Linked DNA regions of Homo sapiens: region 2 is linked to region 1. The links are contacts of gene promoters, found by promoter capture Hi-C in blood cells and fetal thymus (Javierre and others, 2016). All regions are on one chromosome and are shown on one strand. Each heading gives the region's core, a stretch centred on a gene start or on the middle of the fragment in contact. The rest is flanking DNA. Distances are from core to core; before and after follow the strand shown. Region 1 holds the start of DCAF12 (DDB1 and CUL4 associated factor 12). Region 2 overlaps UBE2R2 (ubiquitin conjugating enzyme E2 R2).

Region 1 (7,128 bases), core at 470-2,969:
TATCCACGACCTAGGAGAGAGGTCACATCCCCCCAGGCACTTACCGTGTTGCATTTTGTGCCACACACCACTTGCCTATGATTCAACCACTGAGATGCAAACACTTTATTAAGGGTCCCAAGGTGAAACTCTCTCTCCTTCAGGAGACTGGGAAGTTGCTGTGCTGCATAACCATGCAACACTCGAGAGTAGCTGGTTTCATTCTGTAGCCTGACTTCCCGGTTCTTCAAGTAGTATACTAAGGATCTCTTCACAGGAGGAAGTCTTTTCCTTTTGTGAAGCGAGTGATCCCAGCCAAACTGTGGAAACAACATTAGAAATCAGGGCTTTGGCTACTCTTCTTCAGAACAGATCCTACTGTATTACAGAAATCACCAACTCATAACTCATACTGCAGAATTTACAAACAACACAAATACAAACACAAGAGAACAAGAATCTCAATCCAGAAAGTCGTTTAACTCTTCCAACATTAAAAAGATGTTGCTCACAGTCAAACTTACCAATGTGAATTACAAGGGCTGAAAGTCAAGGGAATGAATGCAGAATAGAACAGACTAAAAGGTTTACTAGACATTTTAGGAGTGAAAGATTGAAGGAAATGAGAGGTAGAGTGATTCCCATACCGACATGGGCTGCATCTCTACCCAGCCCCCTTCTCCCTCTCAGTCTGTACTCCCACTGGAGCACGGAAGATACAGTCCAAGGAGCCAGACCTGGCTCCCAGGTCTTCCAGGGATGCATCATCAATGACCGTTCCTCTGTCATCATGCCCGCGCTCCAGGCAGTTGCAGAATTCGAAAAATCAACCGCCAACGGGGTAGTAGGCCCCCGGGAAATCAGAGGCCATATCTATGTCCAAGAAGGCCTTCCCCTCCAAAGGGGGCGGCATAGAGATGATACCTGGGAACTGTTGTTTCTTTTGGGGTCCAAACGCCGAAAGGCCCAGCTCAGGGTTGGGTATACATATAGGGAGACTACTTCCTTCTTCCAGGAGGGACGCAATCATCCCAGCTTCCTAGGGCCCATGGAAGGTAGAGTTCACTCTACCAGAGTTTGTTTCCGATTCCCTTAACTTCGGTTTCCCCTTCCTCCAAAGCCAAGATTCTGGTTTCTTTTCAAGCCCTATCCACGAATGCAGGCCTCCCGCGGATTATGTCCCATTCCTGAGTTCCCCTTTGGCTCCTCACCGCCCTGGCCTATCTGCCCTCCAGTTAACGAGGGTCCAGTCCTGACCCTATAGGCCCTGAACCCATTCCTGTTTTGCCTCTGACTGCAGACCCTGGACCCCGATTCCCGTCGCAGGATCTGCGGACCCTAAGCCCATCTTGGTTCCTCAGCCTCACCACCCAGGTGCCGGCCTCTCAACCCTCACCTGCGGGCCCTGAGCGTCGCTCCCAGCTCCCGGCGAGGCGGGCGCTTTCCGCTTCCTGCTAACTACTTTCCGGGCCATAGTGGGCAGCGCCGCCGCGGCCCCGCAGCCACATGGGGCGGGGGAAGCGAAGGATAGCAGGACGGCGGGTCATATACTGGGCCCCGGGGCCGCGCACCTTAGTGCGCCCGGCCCGGAAAATGGCCCGGACCCGGAGCGGCAGCAGAAAAAAGATAGGCGGAAAGAAAGGAAAGAGAGAGGAAGGACTTGAGCCGGGAAAGGGAAGGGGAAGCGAGAATGAGCGGCTTTCCGACGGCAGAGCCTGCAAGGACGGCGAGCGGCTAGAACCAAAACACCCCCTCCCCCTTGCTCGCGCGCCGTCACCCTTGCGCAGCCGCACTTCGGATAGCGTCGCCACGGAAACACCGCCGGAACGAGATGGGCGGGATCTAGGGGTTGGAAGATAGTTCTCTGGTGTTTCCCGGCCGCCGCCAGGCCATTTTCAACGGTTGTTTGGCTACTGCTGGATGGAAGTGGACGAGCTGGGGCCAAGGGAATCTGGCTTCTGGCCGCCGACCTCCGACCCCAGCCCGCCTATCCGCAGGCACCCGGAAGTGAGGACCACCAGTGCTGCTGGGGGAAGGAATCCTCCCTAGTGCAGGCCTTAACCCGGTTACCTCCCATCTGGCACCAAACGTTTCCCTGAATCTGTCACAAACCGTGCCCTGGCTCCAAGGGCTGGACAGGGGGGTGGGGGGGTGGGGGGCAGGAACCGCTCCCACCCTCGAGGTGAAGTCCAGTCAGGAAGTCAGGGCAGTGTGGCCAGACTTTCCCACCACTGAGAACCTGCCCAGCACAACCAACCCAGGCCGCCCTACGAGTCTCTGGCTACCCTCTTCCCACCGCTGGGTAGCCCTGAGGCTCCATTCTCCGCTCTGTCTCCTCCTGATCCTTTCTCCTGTCCGAAATGCTTCAGCCCCTCAGTCAGTTTCAGCTCCTCAGTCACCTTCCCCTTACGGTGCAACTTCACCATTCCCTTTAGATTTCCATGACCTGCCATCTAAACCACATGGTCTTTTGTGCTTTATGAAGTAGTCATCACGCTGTAAACTTATCTGTAGCTGCCTGCCTCACTCTTGGATTCAGGTTGCGTCTCCATTAGGGCAGGTCGGGAATTCTGAACTACAGGAAAGAGAGTGGTCATTTTTGGCTTGCCAGTCCAGTTAGAGCTGGCATTGGCCTCCAAACAAGGGGGCTTCATCAGGATCACCCTTGCCAACATTTTTGGAAGATCCTGAAGGAATATGACTGCCAGCCTTCGCTTTCCTCAAGCAAACAAACCCTCTGAGGAAGCAGGATGCTCTTGCTTGGGGCTGATTGGCCTCAGGCTGTGGTGCCCAGTTACCTGCTGGTCACTTCAGGCTTCAGGCCTCAGGCCTCATACCTCCAAGGAGCTCTGTTGGACCATCTCAAGTTCTGTCAACAAGGAGATTTGGATTTGTTTTCCAAGCCGAATCAAAGACCAGATTGAAGCAGGGTCTCCTGCCATCCCAAGTCGGCACTACCACTAACCCCTAATGTCTTGCGAAAGGCAGCTCCATCTTATTTGGTCAGGCCTGTCCCTTTAGAGATATGCACATAGTGAGTGGGTCAGGAGTGGGTCAGCTTTCTTTTTTGAGTCTGTTCTAATTCTGTCTTGCCCCGCAATGCTCTGGATGACCCAAGAGCCCCTGGGCAAGAGTCTGGAATCCTTTGAGAATCTCTAGGCTCAGATTGGGCTGTCAGTGCCAAGAGGGGCACACTGGGCACTGCTGCAGTCTCTTTCTCAAAGTTCCTTTACTTCATCTTCACAACCTAGGAACCATCCCCAAATGTACCTTATAGCAGAGCTCGCGATTTCTTTTCTTTTTTTTTTTTTGAGATGGAGTCTCACTCTGTAGCCTAGGCTGGAGTGCAGTGGCACGATCTCGGCTCACTGCAACCTCTGCCTCCTGGGTTCAAGTGATTCTCCTACCTCAGCCTCCTGAGTAGCTCAGATTACAGGTGCTCGCCACGTTGCCCAGCTAATTTTTTTTTTTCTTTTTTGAGACGGAGTCTCGCTCTGTCGCCCAGGATGGAGTGCAGTGGTGCGATCTCGGCTCACTGCAGGCTCCGCCTCCTGGGTTCACGCCATTCTCCTGGCTCAGCTTCCCGAATAGCTGAGACTACAGGCGCCCGCCACCACGCCTGGCTAATTTTTTGTATTTTTAGTAGAGACGGGGTTTCACCATGTTAGCCAGGATGGTTGCCCACTAATTTTTGTATTTTTAGTAGAGACGGGGTTTCACCATGTTAGCCAGGATGGTTGCCCACTAATTTTTGTATTTTCAGTAGAGATGGGGTTTCGCCATGTTGGCCAGGCTGGTCTCAAAATCCTGACCTCAGGTGATCCGCCCACTTCGGCCTCCCAAAGTGCTAGGATTACAGGCATGAGCCACCACGGCTGGCCAAGAGCTCACCATTTCTATTCAAATAACAGAATGAAAGTCCATTTTGGAAATTTAATTGACAATTGCCTTTAAAAGACTGCAGGCCAGGTGCGGTGGCTCACGCCTGTAATCCCAGCACACTGGGAGGCCGAGTTGGGCCAATCACCTGAGGTCAGGAGTTCGAGACCAGCCTCCTGAGTAGCTGGGTTGCAGTGAGCTGAGATCATGCCACTGGACTCCAGCCAGGGTGACAGAGCAAGACCCTGTGTAAAAAATAAAATAATAAAATAATAATGATAACAATAATAAAGTAGTAGAGTGGCTGGGGGAAAAAGTACTCAGGGCATGTAACTACTCCAAGAATGGCATTCTTAGTGAGCCTCACTGCTGAAACTGCGTGCTATAATCTGAAAGCAGTTTTATCTAATAGCTGTTAAAACAACCTACTGTGACTCTCAGAAATAGTTTTACTTATTGCCTTCACTTACCAATCAAAACTTGCCAGCTCTCCAAAACCTTACTAGTGCCAGTGAACTTTCTTGAAGAGCAATACATAACACTTCCTTTTTACAAAACTTCCAACCTTCTCTTTGTTCTGCAGACATGGCAAAGACCACCCAGTCTGCGTGTGCCCTGAATTACAATTCCTGCTTCACAAAACATTTTAATTTTAGAGATTCATCTATATATTTTATTTCACCTTGACAAAACTGTGTGAATGAATTTTATAATATTGCATAAAAGATATCAGGCCAGGCGTGGTGGCTTACACCTGTAATCCCATCACTTTGGGATGCCAAGGCGGGTGGATCACCTTAGGTCAGGAGTTTGAGACCAGCCTGGCCAACATGGTGAAACCCCCTCTCTACTAAAAATACACAAATTAGCTGGGCATGGTGGTGCCCGCCAGTAGTCCCAGCTACTCAGGAGGCTGAGGCAGGAGAATCGCTTGAACCCAGGAGACCAAGGCTTCAGTAAGCCGAGATCGAGCCACTGCACTCCAGCCTGGGCAACAGAATGAGTTTCCGTTTCAAAAAAAGAAAAGAAAAGAAAAAAAAATCAAACACACTGCTGGGCACGGGGCTCACCCCTGTAATCCTAGCACTTTGGGAGGCTGAGGCAGGTAGATTGCTTGAACTCAGGAGTTTGAGACCAGCATGGGCAACATGGGAAAATCCTGTCTCTATAGAAACATACAAAAATTAGCTGGGTGGGGTGGCATGTACCTGTAGTCCCAGCTACTTGGGAGTTGGCAGGCTGAGGTGGGAGGATAGCTTGAGCCCAGAAGGTGGAGGTTGCAGGTGGAGAGCCAATATCATGCCACTGCACTCCAGCCTGGGAGATCCAGACCTGTCTCCAAAAAAGTCAAACACAAAGCAGTAATTCCTTTTTTTATTTTTATTTTTTGAGGGACAAGTTCTCGCTTTGTTGCCCAGGCTGGAGTGCAGTGGCATGGCATGCATGTGCCACCACACCCAGCTTATTTTTTATCTTTTGTAGAGACAGGGTCTCGCCTGGTTGCCCAGGCTGGTCTTAAACTCCTGGGCTTAAGCGATCCTCCCACCTTGGCCTCCCAAAGTGCTGGTATTACAGGTATGAGACACTGAGGCCAACCAAAGCAGTAATTCCTAAATGTAATTAGTAAATGCCTAATTTCATGTTTTTGAAGTATGAAAACAGGCACAACTGATCCATGGTAAGAGAAATCAGTCATTACCCTTAAGCGGGATTACTAACTGGCAGGGGACCTCAGGGAGCCTTCTGAGGTTCTGGAAATTTCTTTTTTTTCTTTTTGAGACAGAGTCTCATTCTCCCACCCAGGCTGGGGTGCAGTGGCACGATCTCAGCTCACTGCAACCTCTGCCTTCCGGGTTCAAGCAATTCTCCTGCCTCAGCCTCCCAAGTAGCTGGGACTACAGGCCTGCGCCACCACACCTGGCTAATTTTTGTATTTTTGGTAGAGATAGGGTTTCACCGTGTTGGCCAGGCTGGTCTCAAACTCCTGACCTCAGGTCATCCACCCACCTCGGCTTCCCAAAGTGCTGGGGTTACAGGCATCAGCCACCATGCCTAGCCTGGAAATTTCTTTCATTTTTCTTTTCTTTTCTTTTTTTTTTTTTTTTTTTTTTGTGAGACAGTCTCGCTTCATTGCCCAGGCTGGGTGCAATGGTGCAATCTCAGCTCACTGCAACCTCTGCCTCCTGAGTTCAAGCGATTCTCCTGCCTGAGCCTCCTGAGTAGCTGGGATTACAGGTGCCCACCACCTCGCCTGGCTAATGTTTTTGTATTTTTAGTAGAGATGGGGTTTCTCCATGTTGGTCAGGATGGTCTCGAACTCCCGACCTCAGGTGATCCGCCTGCCTCGGCCTCCCAAAGTGCTAGGATTACAGGCGTGAGCCACCACTCCTGGCCCTAATTTTTGTATTTTCAGTAGAGGCAGGGTTTCCCCATGTTTGCCAGGCTTGTCTAGAACTCCTGACCTCAAGTGATCTGCATGCCTCGGCCTCCTAAAGTTCTGATATTACAGGCATGAGCCACAGTGTCTGGCCCTCAAACTATACTATTTTGTAGCCTCAAATAAAAACCCCAACAGTTCCAATCTTCTCTAACCCCATTCCTCCAATTCAGTTCTTATAACCATTTCATCACAATGCAATGTGCTGCTAGAGGGTCATTAATGGATCTGCACCTGTTACCTTCTCTTGCCTTGGTCTTGCCAGGAAGAATAAACAATAAGAAATACTATAAAGTGCTTTGGGCAAACTGAATTGTGTTATACTTGCTTAGTAACAGAATTTTCTCTTGTTTATTTGCATAGGTTTCCTGGAACAAACAAAGCGGATGTTAATACAATTCCCTGTTTGACTCTACCCTTCATGTGTTGGAGCTAATTAACCACGCTTGCTAGCAAAGGGGCAAGTAAGAGCTCAGGAGGAAAGTATTTCTGTTAGGAAAAAGGATTTTGGATTTTAATTCATACAACCATAATAAAACATAGCAAGGAAAGAGACCCAGAGGACATAGGACACAAATGAACACAGATGGTAAGCGCACAAAAACGGCTCTCCGATGACGTAGGGATGTGAGAGGCCTCTGAGGCATGGAATCGTAATTACTTCACCCACTGTGGAAATATTTTTCAGATTCTGGGCATAGGTTATTAAAAGTGGAAGATATAGGCCGGGCGAGGTGGCTTACACCTGTAATCCCAGCACTTTGGGAGACTAAGGCGGGTGGATCACTTGAGGCCTCTACTAAAAATACAAAAATTAGCTAGGCATGGTGGCG
Region 2 (6,880 bases), core at 2,134-4,633, 300 kb before region 1:
CTGTGTTTATGATGAAGCATATTCTCTGTTGTCAAATATAAATTTTTATGCATACTGGAAAAATTAGTTGTACAAAATTGAATGTATGTGATACCTTTCTTTTTTTTTTTTGAGACGGAGTCTCGCTCTGTCACCCTGGCTGGAGTGCAGTGGCGCGATCTCGCCTCACTGCAACCTCCGCCTCCCAGATTCAAGCTATTCTCCTGCCTCAGCCTCCCAAGCTGCTGGGACTACAGGCGCACGCCACCACGCCCAGCTAATTTTTGTATTTTTAGTAGAGATGGGGTTTCACCATATTGGCCAGGCCGGTCTCGAACTCCAGACCCTGTGATCAACCCGCCTCTGCCTCCCAAAGTGCTGGGATTACAGGCGTGAGCCACTGCGCCCGGCCATGATGCCTTTTCTGACAAAACATTGTTTAGCAAAATCTGCTGGCTAATGTTAGTGGAATAAAGTTTGATTTCCAAAAAGTGTCATTGTTTGGTACAACCGATATTTAAAATAAATAAATGGGTACTAGTTAGAATAATCTCACTCCAATAAAGTTAAAAACAAGAGCAAACAAAACAAAACAAAACAAAACTTGTACATGAGAGAAAATAATGGGTTGCAAGTTGTAATATTTGTGCATAAGTCTGGGAAAGGAGTGTGGAGAACCCTCTCTGAAATAGGAAGTATGGAAGGATTCCTTGTGTTAATACACTGATTTAAATTAAATGCTTCTGAACTTCAGTCCTTGTTTAAAAGAATGATTTAATCTCGTGCTTTGTGATGTTAGATTTCTTAAGCTTTGAGTGTTTTTACCTTTAATTCTGACATGTATGAAAATTTGTAAACAGGTTTTATGGTTTAGTCTTGTGTGAGAAGTTTGTTCGATTGTATTTTCGACTACTTTTTCCCTTATATGGCCTTTTATCCCATTAGTTGTTCATTAGAAAAAGGCAAATTTATGGTCATGAGCAGTTGACACTGGGGATATGTTTAAAACCATTGTTTTTATTTTACTGCTTTTGTCTTAAGACAAGGCTTTTAGTGTATTTCACTACAGCTGCAGTTGAAAGTTGGCACAAAGCTTTCCCTACCATATCACTCTTCTCCCTTATTAAATGTTAGTCCTTGAACATTTAGTATAATTTATTTTCAAGTTAAACTCTTTTCCCTTTTTGGCATAGTCATTCGTGAAGGCAGTGGGACTGCCAGTCATTCTTTACATTTTTCATACTGTAATTCCTTTAACTTTTATATATTAATAGGTTTCTAACTGATCTTTTTCACCCTGAAATAGTTGGCTCTTGTCTCTTACCCACAGGATCTGCATTGGAGATTTGTGAGACCTGTATTTCACAGAATTTTTTTATTCATCCTGCTTTCGCTTATTTAATATCGCCAATCCACGTGATTCTTAGTTTTGGGCCATATAGATGTAGGATGGGCAAAGATAGTTTCTTCTGTCCATTCTGAATACTATACAATCTTTTTTGGCCTTACTATCTTTTTGTGTAGTTTCTTATTTTGCTACCTAAGCAAGTCGGAATTTTATTGTTACTAGAAAAATAAATTGTGGATCAAGTCAGTAGCTAATGAAGACTTTTAACAAGTTCACCCCCTTTCTTTTGAAAGGAACTTTTTCAGGGTCTTTCTCTGTCACTTAGTTTGGGGTACAGTGGTGTGATCATGGCTCACTGCAGCTTCCACATCCTAGGCTCAAGCAGTCCTCCCACCTCAGCCCCCTGAGTAGCTGGGACTACAGGCATGACTACGCCCGGCTAATTTTTTTTTCTTCAGTATTGTTAAGTGAGGTAGGGTCTCACTATTTTGTCCAGGCTGGTCTCAAACTCCTGGGTTCAAAGGATCCTCCTTTCTCAGCCACCCAAAGTGCTGGTTTTACAGGCGTCAGCCACCATGCCCGGCTGGAACTATCTTTTCAAATAACTCCTGCTAAGGATTGTAGCTTAGTGTGGGTGCTTTAGTACTGAACCTCCTTGGAACTTTTGCATTATTTATCTAAAGCATTATAGCAGTGAGTCTAGAGCCAGAAAGAGTGCCTCTTTTATGATATGCATAACAAAAAAAAATTTTTTTTTTTTTTGAGATGGAGTCTCACTCTTTTGCCAGGCTGGAGTGCAGTGGCACGATCTCAGCTCACTGCAACCTCTGCCTCCTGGGTTCAAGCGATTCTCTTGCCTCAGCCTCCCGAGTAGCTGGGATTACCGGCGTGCGCCATGAAACCTGGCTAATTCTTTTTGTATTTTTAGTAGAGACAGGGTTTCACCATGTTGGCCAGGCTGGTCTTGAACCCCTGACCTTAAGTGATCTGCCCATCTCAGCCTCCCAAAATGTAATCCTAATTAGAGGCCTGAGCCACCACTCCTGGCCAACCTTTTATAGTTTTGATTTTATTAAATAATTTGATTGAGGTAATGAAATATAGATGTGTTCCATTTTTAGAAAACTCCAGTCTGATAATTTAGAAAGTATTTGTTGTATACTTAAAGTTTTCCTTATTAGGAACATCTTTATTAGACTCAACACTGACATATATATATATATATTTTTTTTTTTTGAGACTGAGTTTTGCTCTTATTGCCCAGGCTGGAGTGCAGTGGAGCGATCTCGGCTCACTGCAACCTCCGCCTCCTGGGTTCAAGCGATTCTTCTGCCTCAGCCTCCTGAGTAGCTGGGATTACAGGCATGCGCCACCATGCCCAGCTAATTCTGTATTTTTGGTAGAGACGAGGTTTCTCCATGTTGGTTAGGCTGGTCTCAAACTCCTGACCTCAGGTGATCCCGCTCACCTCAGCCTCCCAAAGTGCTGGGATTACAGGCCTGAGCCACCACACCTGGCCTACACTGACTTACATTAAAGAAACTCTTCAAAACCTTTTTTTTTTTTTTTTAAGAGATAGGGTCTCACTTTGTTGCCCAGGCTGGAGTGCAGTGGTGTGATCATAGCTCACTGCAGCCTGAAACACTTGGGCTCAAGGGATCCTCTTGCCTCACCCTCCTGAGTAGCTGGGACTGCAGGTGCATACCACACTCGTTTTAATTTAAAAAAAAAATTGTTTATGCAGAAAGGGTCTCATAGGCCAGGCTGGTCTCGAACTCCTGGCTTCAAACAATCCTCCCACCTTGGCCTCCCAAAGTGCTGGTGTTACAGATGTGAGCTACCACACCCAGCCAAATAATTTTTTTTTTAATAAGAGAATATGCATTATTTCCTATGCTTCATTTGTTTTGCAATGAATGAATCTATTTTCTGCCTTCCCTCTTCCCCCTAAAAAAACAAACCAGACTTAGCCTAGATCTGGCAATGTCATTTAGATATTTTATTTCTTTTTTTTCTTTTTCTTCTTCTTATTAATTTTTTTTTTTTTTTTTTAGCTGAGTCTCGCTCTGTTGCTCAGGCTGGACTGCAGTGGTGTGATTTCGGCTCACTGCAACCTTTACCTCCTGTGTTCAAGCAGTTCTCGTGCCTCAGCCTCCCAAGTAGCTGGGATTACAGGCGTGCACCACCATGCCTGGCTAATTTTTGTAATTTTTAGTAGAGATGGGGTTTTGCCATGTTGGCCAGGCTGGTCTTGAACTCCTGGCCTCAAGTGATCTGCCCACCTTGGCCTCCCAAAGTGCTGGGATTACAGATGTGAGCCAGTGTGCCCAGCCTATTATTATTATTTTAGAGACAGAGTCTCGCTATGTTGTCCAGGCTTGTCTTGAACTCCTGGGCTCAAGTAATCCTCCCGCCTCAGCCTCCCAAAGCACTGCGATTATAGGTCTGAACCATTGCACCCAGCCTATTTTATGACTCTTTAATTGGTAAAATATAGTTGAAAAAAAATTTTTTTTTTTCCTAGATGGAGTCTTGCTCTGTTGCGCAGGCTGAAGTGCAGTGGCGCGATCTTGGCTCACTGCAACCTCTGCCTCCCGGGTTCAAGCAGTTCTCCTGCCTTAGCCTCCCAAGTAGCTGGGATTACAGGTGCGTGCCAGCACGCCCGGTTAATTTTTGTATTTTTAGTGGAAACGGGGTTTCACCATGTTGTCCAGGCTGGTCTCAAACTCCTGACCTCAGATGATCTACCCGCCTTGGCCTCCCAAAGTGCTGGGATTACAGGCATGAGCCACCGCGCCTGGCTGAAAAAATTTTTTTAGGAAAATGATTGTTTGCCTTTTTGAGACAGGGATTCTTTTGAGAAATTGAAGAATTTTCTCAGAGAAAATGGGTACACGTAAACTAATTTTATGTATCTTTTTCAGAGGGTTTACTGCCGATGAGCTAAGAATCCTCTTGTAAGGTATTTGGATAGGCAACTTAAAGACAATTTTAAACAGCTCCTTTAAAATTATAAAACGAATGCTCTTTTATTCCCCCATTTCTCTCAGTTAACTTTGAAACTACCTCTTAGGGCATTTAGCTGTCTCTTTCTGGAAGATGAAGTTGTCTTGAGTACTGGGTGAACTAAGGTAACGTTATAAATGGAAACACAGTTAAGGTCTAAGGGTTTTGGAAACTAAATGAAGTTTCACTTTTTGTTGTTTCTCAGAACATTTTTCAAACCAAATATGATGCCTTAGTTTTTCATAGAATATGCTTTTATCCTGTTTAGTTGATTACAAGATGCATATTTTTCTACCTTTTAACTTCTTTTTGATTAAGAAATTTCTTAGATGGCCAGGTGTGGTGGCTCATTCCTGTAATCCCAGGACTTTGGGAGGCCGAGGCGGGTGGATCACCTGATGTCAGGAGTTCAAGACCAGCCTGGCCAACATGGTGAAACCCGGTCTCCACTAAAAATACACAAATTAGCTGGTGTGGGCCGGGCGCGGTAGCTCATGCCTGTAATCCTAGCACTTTGGGAGGCCGAGGCGGGCGGATCACGAGGTCAGGAGATGGAGATCATCCTGGCTAACGTGGTGAAACCCCATCTCTACTAAAAAAATACAAAAAAATTAGCCAGGCATGGTGGTAGGCACATGTAGTCCCAGCTACTTGGGAGGCTGAGGCAGGAGAATGGCGTGAACCCGGGAGGCGGAGCTTGCAGTGAACTGATATCGAGGCACTGCTCTCTAGCCTGGGCGAGAGAGCGAGGCTCTGTCTCAAAAAAAAAAAAAAAATTAGCGGGTGTGATGGTCCGCACCTGCAGTCCCAGCTACTTGGGAGGCTGAGGCAGGAGAATTGCTTGAACCCAAGAGGTGGAGGCTGCAGTGAGCCTAGATCATGCCAGTGTACTCCAGCCTGGGCAACAGAGTGAAGCTCTGTCTCAAAAAAAAAAAAAAAAAAAATTCTTGGAATCCATGAAGTCTTGTAATTGCCATCAGCCAAGTGGTACTTATAACCTAGTTGTGAGAGACCATTTCATTGAAATCTTTTGGTAAATTTTTTTTTAAATACCAGTTTCAATGTCATAGATTTGCTAAAATAAGGATTATTTCTTCCTGGATTGAAGGATTTAGGTCCTAATTAATACTCTGCGTTGATTCTCCTTTTTTCACCTTTTGTGTCAGGAAAAATTTTTATTGAGGACTCATTAAAGGAAAAGCAAATTGTAGGAAAAGTCACTTCCTTAAAGATAGTAAGTGAAAGTATTAGGACAATGATAACCTTAGAGCTTTTAAGAATGATCGGCCAGGCGGTCGCCTGTAATCCCAGCACTTTGGGAGGCAAACAACAAAAACAAAAAGAATGATCTTCATAAAAGCAAAGCTTTTTTTTTTTTTTTTTTTGAGACAGAGTCTCTGTTACCCAAGCTGGAGTGCAGTGGTACAATCTTGGCTCACTGCAGCCTCCATCTCCTGGGTCCAAGCAATTCTCCTCCTCAGCTTCCCGAGTAGCTGGGGCTACAGGCGTGTGCCACCATGCCAGACTAATTTTTGTATTTTTAGTAGAGATGGGGTTTCACCATGTTGGTCAGGGTGGTCTCAAACTCCTGACCTCAGGTAATCCACCCACCTCGGCCTCCCAAAGTGCTGGGATTACAGGCATGAGCCACCACACCTGTCCAAAAGCAAAGCTTTTAAAGCTTTAAGGCTAGTTAGACCATTTTTCAACATAATGATAAAATGTTCTGTTCCATCTTTCCAACTTAATGGTCAGTTGGAGACACGTGAGAGAAAGGAGACCATCCAGCAAATTAGGCTACCTCTGATAATCTAGTTATGGAAAAATAACAGTGAGGAAAAGGTATAAATTCAGAGTTTAGGACTACAGATTTCCATCTTGCTTAAAGATTATATTGAAAAGGTTTAATTCTTTTATGTTTCTGAACTTCTTTTGAACTGCTTCACATACGACTACAGAGATATCTGAGTTGGTTGGATGCAGTGGCTCATGCCTGCTCACACCTGTAATCCCAGCACTTTTGGGAGGCGGAGGTGGGCAGATCACTTGAGGTCAGGAGTTCAAGACCAGCATAGCCAATATGGTGAAACCCCATCTCTACTAAAAATACAAAAAGTAGCCGGGTGTGGTGGCATGCGCCTGTAGTCCCAGCTACTTGGGAGGCTGAGGCAGGAGAATCGCTTGAACCCAGGAGGTGCAGGTTTGCGGTGAGCCAAAATCTTGTGCCACTGCACTCCAGCCTGAGCAACAGAATGGGACTCTGTCTCAAAAAAAAAAAAAAAAATCCTACAGAGATTCCTGAGTAAAATTTAACCTCTTTGATTGTGTTAATATCAACTTTATTCAGCAAGAAATTGTTATTCAGAGATTATGCTTATGTACCTCAAAATTAGTTGACTCTGAAGTGAATGGAATGATAGATACTAAGTTGAAGAGGTAAATTTAGTTCACATCACCAAGGTTTGATGTTACTTAAATGATCTTCCACATGATAATTGGAAAATTCAGGTGTTGGAATATGTATTTAAGATGCAAAGTGGCTAGGAG

Evidence for each region. The method cuts DNA at HindIII sites, captures the fragments that hold promoters and counts their contacts. A CHiCAGO score of 5 or more calls a contact.
Region 2: a contact is called between a fragment that was not itself captured here and the fragment with the promoter of DCAF12 in region 1, in 1 of 17 cell types (erythroblasts). The highest score is 6.2, in erythroblasts.

The regions. Positions count from the first base shown.
Region 1 is chr9:34,124,979-34,132,106 of GRCh38, forward strand. It overlaps DCAF12 (DDB1 and CUL4 associated factor 12), which reads right to left and starts at 1,720. Exons shown (of 9, transcript NM_015397.4): 1 at 1,376-1,720; 2 at 45-299. The coding sequence starts at 1,453. RefSeq lists an enhancer at 1,269-1,970 and a silencer at 1,405-1,454. The HindIII fragment of the contact is 23,268 bases long and covers 1-7,128 here.
Region 2 is chr9:33,819,546-33,826,425 of GRCh38, forward strand. All of the region lies in intron 1 of UBE2R2 (ubiquitin conjugating enzyme E2 R2), which reads left to right. Among named protein-coding and RNA genes, the nearest start is that of UBE2R2-AS1, 4.1 kb to the left of the region's middle. The HindIII fragment of the contact is 4,626 bases long and covers 1,071-5,696 here.